Linked DNA regions of Homo sapiens: region 2 is linked to region 1. Evidence: promoter capture Hi-C in human tissues and cell types (Jung and others, 2019). All regions are on one chromosome and are shown on one strand. The core of a region is centred on a gene start or on the middle of the fragment in contact, and the rest is flanking DNA. Distances in the headings are between cores, read along the strand shown. Region 1 holds the start of CD302 (CD302 molecule). Region 2 overlaps BAZ2B (bromodomain adjacent to zinc finger domain 2B).

Region 1 (4,167 bases), core at 1,526-4,025:
CGAAATATAACAGTACCCACATACAGGCAATAAGTAGTCTATTTCATCAGATTAGCATCAAAAATGAGGCAGTGTGCACCAGAGTTAACAATAAAATAATATAATTTTCTTTAGTACAAATGACTTAAAATGACAGTGTTAAAATGGGTTTTGCCTTAATTAGATTGATTCATTAGGATGTCAATTCTATTGTAAATATAAAAATATTTGAAAAGTAGCTTAACACAAAACCACATTGATAAAATATACTTTGGTGCCTGAGGTGGGGGTGGAAGAGATAACTTTCACAATTACATGATTGCTTAGAACTGTTCATTTTACTTCTGTAGTTAGGAGGGCAAAAGGGTCCAGAATCAAGATGTGTCAATATTCCAATATAGAGTATCTTTGGAAGGATTTGCTCTGGTCTGGAGTTTGGTATATAATAAACTCAGTATTGGCAGCCTGAGAAGAAAAATGGAAGTAAATAAGTTAAGCAAGACCTTAATACTTTGGCAAAGGGGCAGAACCTGGAATAGGTGGGAGAGTCCAGCAGAGGAGCTGGGCTCTGGTTCATTTGTTGGCATTCTCTGTGAGCCCACGGGGGAATCACATCCCTTCTTTGGGTCACTCAATTTCCTTACTAGTACCACTTCTAACACTCTATGACTCTCCTTATAGACCCCTTGGGTCAAATTTCCTTGGTGTAACCACTCTGGATTATCAGAAGTGTGGAAAGGGTTAGAAAGAGTTGGAAAGGGTCAGATTTTATTTTTTTAAAAATAGACTAATTTTTGAGCAGTTTTAGATGTATACAAAAAATGTAGCAGAAGGTACAGAGCTCCCATGTACCTCCTTACACATACCCCAGTTTCCCCAATTATTAACATCTTGCATTAGCAGGTACATTTGTTACAGTGGATGAGCCAATATTGACACATTATTAACTAAAGTCCATTGTCCACACTAGGGTTCATCTTCGTTTTGTGCATTCTATGGGTTTTGACACATGTATAGTGATACACATCTACCATTACAGTATCCTACAGAATAATTTCATGGCTCTAAAAATCCTCTGTGTTCCATCTATTCATCCCCTCCTTCTTCCCACCCCAACCCCTGGCAACCATTTATCTTTTTACTGTCTCCATAGTTTTGCCTTGTCTAAAATGTCATATAGTTGGAATCATATAGTATGCAGTCTTTTCAGATTGGCTTCTTTCTCTTAGCAATACATATTTAAAGTTCTTCCATGTCTTTTTGTGGCTTGATAGCTCATTTAATTTTGGTACTGAGTAACATTTCATTGTTTGGATGTGCCATTGTTTATCCATTCACTTATTGAAGGACATCTTGTTTGCCTCTAGGTTCTGGCAATTATGAATAAAGCTGCTATCAACATTCATGTGCAGGTTTTTGTGTGTATGTAAGTTTTTAACTCATTTGGATAAATACCAAGGAGTTGTGATTGCTAGATGGTATGGTAAGAGTACGTTTAGTTTTGGAAGAAGCTTCCAAATTGTCTTCCAAAGTGGCTGTACCATTTTGCATTTGCACCAGCATTGAATGAGAGTTCTTTTTGCTCCACATCTTTGCCAGCATGTGGTCTTGTCAGTGTTTTTGGATTCTGGTATCTAATAGGTATGTAGTGGTATTTCATTTTTGTTTTCATATACAATTCAGCAATGACATATGATGTTGAGCATCTTTTCATCTATTTGCCATTATATAACTTCTTTGATGACGTGTGTATTCAGATCATCTGACCATTTTTTTTAACTGGGTCATTTGTTTTCACGTTGTTGAGTTTAGACTTGATTTTATAGAACTCTTTTGCCAATGACATGAGGCTTAAACAAGCACCCTTGCTTGACCCTGGCTAGTGTTGTCCAGAGGCCCTCATGGGTGAAGTATAATTGCACAGTTTATGCATACATTGTAGCAAACATAGCTTAAAGACTCTTCATCCAGGAGCTGGTAACAGAGAAAAGTTGTCTAAGAGACATAGTCCACTGAAAGGGGTCTTTGAAAAGGAGGATTCTGGCCAGTAGATCCAAAGAAGAAGGCTGGCAAACGCCACCTTAACCAACTGATCCAAGTTAACATCAGTGATGAGACATCGACATCTTGTCCTTCTCGAGCACGTACATCACTTCTGGGGAACTCTTTCCCAAAAAAGCGCAACCTGAATCCAATTAGAAGGAAATGTCAGACAAAATGAAACTGAGGGACATTCTACAAAACGACTGGCCAGTACTTTTTAAATGTGGTTTGATCGTGAAAGAAAAAGAATGACAGAGAACCGTCCTAGATTAAAGGGAGACTAAGGAGACACGACATGCAATGTATGATCCTGGATTGAATCTTGGAACAGAAAAGGACCCTTAGAGGGGCAATTAATGAAATGTGGTAAGTGCTGTAGATTAGCTAATCGCATTATCCCAGTGCGAGTGCCCTGTGTTTGATCACTGCACTGGCGTTATATACAATGTCAATATTTAGAGAAGCTGGCTGAAGGGTTACGGAAATCTCTTGTGCTGTTTTTGCAACATTTTCGAAAGTCCTAAATTATTTCAATTCAAATGAAAAGTTTAAAAAACAAAAATTAGAAGTTCCAGAAGGCCGCGCGCCAGCCGCTCCTGCGGGACGGGACACCCGGGTTCTCCTGGTGGGAGCCCCCAGTGCCGTTCACGTTCCGCCCGGGGGGGGGATTAAACTCGCACGCGAGAAGCACCGCCCCCGCTCCCGCCCCGCCCCGCTCCTCTCCGGCCGCGCAGCCGCTGCCGCCCACCCGCACCCGCCGTCATGCTCCGGGCCGCGCTGCCCGCGCTCCTGCTGCCGTTGCTGGGCCTCGCCGCTGCTGCCGTCGCGGGTAAGCCCTTACGTAGTCCCTCGCCGGGACCGTGCGCGACCGCCTTCGCCCCCTTCCCAACGCACGCTCTTCGTCCCCGCGCACCCGAGGGCGGCCCGCAGACGCAACACCCGGCCGGCCATCCCGCCCTTCCCTGCACGCCCGTCCCCCGTGGGTCCTGGCTCCGGGTCACCTCTCACCCGCCTGCCCTCGGGGAGGGGAGGTGGCCGAGAATAAGGGAGGGCTCTGTCTTCCTCGGAGTCCACATCCTCACCGCAGACCCCACTCCGCGGGGAGGGAACCCCCAAATTAGGCCAGTTGGCCGGAGAACTGAGGGACTTGGAGTCGCACGACGGGCGCCGTTTCAGGGCAATTTCGGGCTGAAATGAGAAGCGGGGACGTTGGTGGCGATTTCCCCTGCTGGTGCGCGGCCGGAGTGGGGTTGCTGGGATGGGGGTGGGGGCCGGAGGAAGTAGGCCCTCTTTTGCAAGCAGCGCTGTTTGTCTAGTTGGTTGGTGTTCAAGTTGTTTAAACAGGAAAACAGTTCAGCCAAATAACCCCTGGATGGAAGAGGAACGGGAATAGGCAAAGCTTGGATTTCACTGAAATCAAGGAGTTTTAAAGTTCTAGTCTGCTGTTGTGCAAGTGACATCTGAAAAATCACACACGTGATCATTCATTTACAAAACGACTCGTGAGGAAAATGCACAATTCTATTGACCGTGGTCTTTATTTTTAAAAAATTTCCATACAAGCATGTCAAAAATATGTGGATGGGGAGACTCTGGAGAACACAGACTTCCAAAAACACCACTGACTGAATAATTCCAGGAATTAAAGAGCAAAATAAACAAGAACTAAATGAGTACTTGTGTGGGCTTAAATAAAGTGCAAGAGATTTAAATAAAATGCAAGAGATTCCCCCCCCCCACCCCTTGCCCCAGATTTCACTGCGTTTTTATAATAACTGCCTGCTCGAAGTCTACTGACAGGAATATTTCAGTGGACCTCAGTGTTGGAGGCAGCAGCAGCTCAGAACTTGGATACAAACCCAAGGTTCCTTTCTTGAAAACTTCTGTGGACCTGCATTTATGACTGGTTGTGACATCTGCTGCCTATCAAAGGGGCAGAAACAAGATGTGCCCATGTTCACATTGTTCAGACTGGGAACATTAATTTTGTCTAAGACAAAGCTGGGCTGTCTCTGAACCCTCCTTCTGCACACCCTCATTTTGCGAGCCAGTAACATCTCAACTCTCATGTAAACCACCCTCTGCGAGGCTGTGCATTTGTACTTTAGGCTAGTCGAATTTTCTTGTCAGATTTTTCTTTCTTGT
Region 2 (4,691 bases), core at 2,171-4,670, 280 kb after region 1:
CCGATTGGATTTATTTAGGAAAATATCAATTTTACTTACAAAAAAATTATGTAATTTTAATCCAGTGTTCTTAGTTTAAAATACTACAGAATAAACTTGAGGACTTGCTTTGATAAATAGTGAACTTTGTGATTAGTGTAACAACTTTTCCACTTGTTTTTAGACTCTTAAGTAATCCCCTTTTCTCAGGTCAGAGTGTCCCCTGCAGAACCATGTGAATTGGTTCTATTGAAATATCTTGGCAGCTGCTAGGTACCTCCTCTACCCCAAAAAGCAGCTCTTTATTTTCTGCTATTCTGGGTTTGTTTGTTGTTTTGTTTTTGAGATGGGGTTGCGCTCTGTTGCCCAGGCTCGAGTGTAGTGACATGATCACAGCTCACTGCAGCCTTGACTTCCCGGCTCAAGCGATCCTCCCACCTTAGCCTGCTGAGTAGCTGCGACAACAGGCGCGCACCACCATGCCTGGCTAATTTTATTTTATTTATTTTTTTAATACCTGGCTAATTTTTTAAAATTTTTGTAGAGATGGGGTCTTGCTGTGTTGCCCAGGCTGGTCACAAACTCCTGGCGTCAATGTATCCTCCCACGTTGGTCTCCCAAGAGTTGGGATTACAGGTGTGAGCCTGTAATCTCAGTGTGAGCACATACTGGGCTTCTTCACATATTTTATTTGAAGAAAGGCCTCCTCTGCTGAATCAATTTAAAATTTTGCTGAGTGTAAATTCTTGTTTTTTATATGTATTTTTTTCCAATAGTTTATAGAAACATATTATTTCTGCCCTCTTATTCCTCATATTACCACAAATTTTAAATCAGTAGTCCATATGAATGAGACTTAGATGAATAAGCAAAAGATAGGCCGTGGACTTTGGGCACAACAAATAAATTATTCCCTGAGTATTCTGTCTCTTAATATGGATTTTTTGAGGGGTTGTTATTATATCAGAAATTATTGAAATTGGTGTATAAATTGTTAGGTACTAGATCAGGGCTTCCTAAACTTTAATGTACAGAATATTCTGAGTAAGTCTAGTCTGGGGCCTGAGTTTCTGCATTTCTGTTTCTTTTTCTTTTTTTTGAGACGGAGTCTCACTCTGTCACCCAGGCTGGGGTGCAGTGTCACAGTTCACTGCAACCTCTGCCTCCCGGGTTCAACCAGTTCTTCCACCTCAGCCTCCCGAGCAGCTGGGACTACAGGCATGCGCCACCATGCCCGGCTAATTTTTGTACTTTTAGTAGAGACAGGGTTTCACTATGTTGGCCAGGCTGGTCTCGAACTCCTGATCTTGTGATCCGCCCGCCTCGACCTCCCAAAGTGCTGGGATTACAAGCGTGAGCCACTGCGCCCAGCCTTGTTTCTTTTGTTTTTTTTTAGAGACAGGGTCTTGCTCTGTCACCCAGGCTAGAGTGCAGTGGCACAGTCATAGCTCACTGTAACTTCGAACTCCTGGGCTGAAGTGATCTTCCCACCTGAATGTCCTGAGTTGCTAAGACTACAGGTACGTGCCAACACACCTGGCTAATTTTTAATATTTTTTGTAGAGACCAGGTCTCACTATTACCCAGGCTGGCCTAGAACTCCTGGCCTCAAGTGATTCTCCCATCTCAGCCTCCTGAGTAGCTGGGACTACAGGCACATGCCACCACATCTGGCTAATTATTTTATTTTTTTGTAGAGATGGGGTCTCGTTGTGTTGCCTGGGCTAGTGTTGAACTCCTGGCCTCAAGTGATCCTCCTGCCTTGGCTTCCCAAAAATGTTGGGATCACAGGTGTGAGCCACCATACCTGGCCAAGATTCTGCATTTTTAACAAATAATTTCCATGTTGCTGGTCTGTGGACTATACTTGGAGTAGCAATGAGCTAGATGACTTTCCAAACCCTATCACCATGTTTTAGGATTTTTTTTTTGTACTAGTAAAAGTAGGCTTTTGGTATTGCACAGATACTCGTTTAAAGCGTCTGTTTCTCTACAGTCTAATGTATATTTTGACATTTTAATAGAAATTTTTGGATTTTTAAAGGAAAATCTCTTGTGTTTAGATTGATTGATCGTTCTGTGGTTGTGTGGTTTGTAGCTTCAAGTCATTCTTCAAAGTTTTAAAAATAGCCTTGACAATTATTAGACGTCAGTGACAACTTTCAGAGTTTACATTTAATAAGGAACGTCTAATTGTTTACTTATTTCTAACAGAATTGTAGTTGATACTGCCTTTGGTTATTTTTGCAGGGTATTGTTTGAGGTTAGACATTAACGTAGTATAAAATATAACAGGAAACTTAATCTTCTGTTTGACTCTGGATGTTTTAGTTGGTATAAGTACTGCTTTTTGTTGTTGTTGTTGTTAAAGCTGTTATTATTATGAATTAGTAGCAATTGTATGCCAGAGATTAGCCTGTTAATTTTATCTGTAGCACAGGTGAATTGAAAACCTAATTTGTGTAAATGGATAACCAATAGCACAGATAGCTCTTTAGTTAAATATCCTATACTCAAAAGGATATAAATTGATTCTGGGGGTACATTAATACTTATTTTTTCTTTAAGATACATCACATTAAATATTTTCATAGTCTTGTGCTTTTATTGAAGATTGTAACTAAATCATAAATCTTTAAGAAAATTCCCAGTATTACTTATTTTTGAAAATATTAATTGGTAATCAACATTTGCAGACCAGGATAGTAAAACATTTTGAGGGAAAAGTATTATTTTAAAAACTTGAGAATAATTTTCATTTTAATGATTATATTAGCCCTACATTATTTCATTTAATAATTATCAGTAGTCAAAATTGTCGAGGAAATTATATTATTACAAAAGTGACTTTAAAATGTATTTATTATTTTCTTATTTCTTATTAAATAAGTAAGCACTCGCCTTGCAATTAAAGTTTTCACATAGAATTTATGTGAAATATTGATAAAAAATTTTTTGGACCTGAGATCCAACAATTCTCTATAGAAATAAACCTCCTTTGTTTCTTCTGGTAGCATCCATTGATTTCTTTTTTCTGAAGGTACACTAATAGTGCTGATAGAAGCAGAACAATTGGAATTTACATTGAAAATAAATGTGATGAATAAAAAGCAATACATTGTAATATAGAGTTGATTTTGCTTCACCCATAAGTTCTAAAATCTAAAGGACAAAAATACTGAAAAGGTCGAGAAAAAAATGAAAGTAAGAACAAACGATTCAAAAAGAAAATGACACTGAGGTCTTGGTTTAATACATATGTATTTCAGGTTGATGGTTGATTTCATTAGCAAATCTCATTGTTATGCAATGTCTGTTCTTCTGCAGAAAAATGAATATTGTATTCTCACAGCCTCTGTGTGTATCTATTATGTTGCAATAAATGAAAATATACACATCTGTATCTGTCTTTGGCTTACTCTTTCCATTTTGTTTTTAAGGAAAAGAAAGAAAATTGAATAATATTCTTTTGTTGTTAAATTTGTTCAAAAGCCATTTCAATTTATATTATGGAAATGTTTCCTACTTTTGTTCTTTGAAGTAAACAATTATAAGATGGTTAATAATGTAACCATGATAATTATCCTATAACTTTTTTAATGAACAGAATGAATCTTGATTGATTTAAGTTGATAATATGAGATACTTCAGTGTATGTTTTCTAACATATTTTTAAATATTAGGAGTGGTTTTCCTTATTGCAGGAAATTATGGTAAGGGAGTGTATATATTATGCCAAATCTAAAGACTACTACCTTTTACAATAGCAGAATTATATATTGAGATTACTAAGGTTTGAATTTTTATAAAATAGGAAGTTCAGAAATAAATTTTAATGGCTACACATTGGAAGAATTCTTTGAATGGTAATAAAGTAATAAGCTTCATAAATTTTATGTTATGAGTTCAAATACGAATCAAACTGTATTGGATGAAAATTGTCATTTAATCTTCGTCATTTTGAGGTTTGACACTAGCTTACAAAATAGATTTGGTTTTTGGTAGTGTTCTCAAAAGTTGTCTCACAATTGAAATTATTTTGACAAGCTTGAAAACAGAAAAGCCCAAGGTTTGATTAAATATGGGTTGATTGTATACCATGCAGAAATCACCTGTATGGTAAAAATTTGCCTTCTGGTTCAATTGATGCAATCATAATAAATATCCTAGTTATGTTGAACAAACATGAGCTGTTATAAATATATACAGCAGTTTATTAATGCATTATAGTAAGTTTATTTGTATTTAGAGTATTTGCTACATGTTGAGCATTTTGTTATTCATGGTGGGTAATATAAAAGAAGGAATTTCAAGATCTAATAAGGAGAATCCCCAAATAATTATATAGTAATATATAGCTAAATTATGTAGAGAAAGCTTTTATGGGCCCTTCAAGTAGAGTCTGAGAGAGAGCCATCCTGAAAGTGATGAGACCTAAACTGATAATGAGGTAGGAGAAGAGATATGAAACAACATAAGCATAATCTGGGAGGCAGGAGGACATAAATTTAGGATCTTTGGGAGGCAGAGAGCAGACCAACCCAGTAGTAAGGAAGATATGATTTGCTACAACCTATTTACCTGACATGAAAACCAGAATGCATCATTGTTACATTTTATTAGTGTTCAGGCTGGATATTATACCATGGTAGCATGTCGTTTGACATCACTGGTAGATCTTGTTTTTTCTTGTATAATAAAATAAGAGATAG

The links. Contacts are between HindIII fragments. The study calls those that stand out against the background at their distance.
Region 2: a fragment that was not itself captured here is called in contact with the fragment with the promoter of CD302 in region 1 in 1 of the 25 tissues and cell types used here (hippocampus).

Annotation. Positions count from the first base shown.
Region 1 is chr2:159,796,816-159,800,982 of GRCh38, reverse strand. CD302 (CD302 molecule) reads left to right here and starts at 2,775. Exons shown (of 6, transcript NM_014880.5): 1 at 2,775-2,851. The coding sequence starts at 2,785. All of the region lies in intron 33 of LY75-CD302 (LY75-CD302 readthrough), which reads left to right. It overlaps LOC124906083 (a long non-coding RNA gene), which reads right to left. Exons shown (of 2, transcript XR_007087273.1): 1 at 3,031-4,167; 2 at 731-2,164. The HindIII fragment of the contact is 5,989 bases long and covers 1-3,901 here.
Region 2 is chr2:159,520,085-159,524,775 of GRCh38, reverse strand. All of the region lies in intron 2 of BAZ2B (bromodomain adjacent to zinc finger domain 2B), which reads left to right. Among named protein-coding and RNA genes, the nearest start is that of BAZ2B-AS1, 93 kb to the left of the region's middle. The HindIII fragment of the contact is 3,851 bases long and covers 1,495-4,691 here.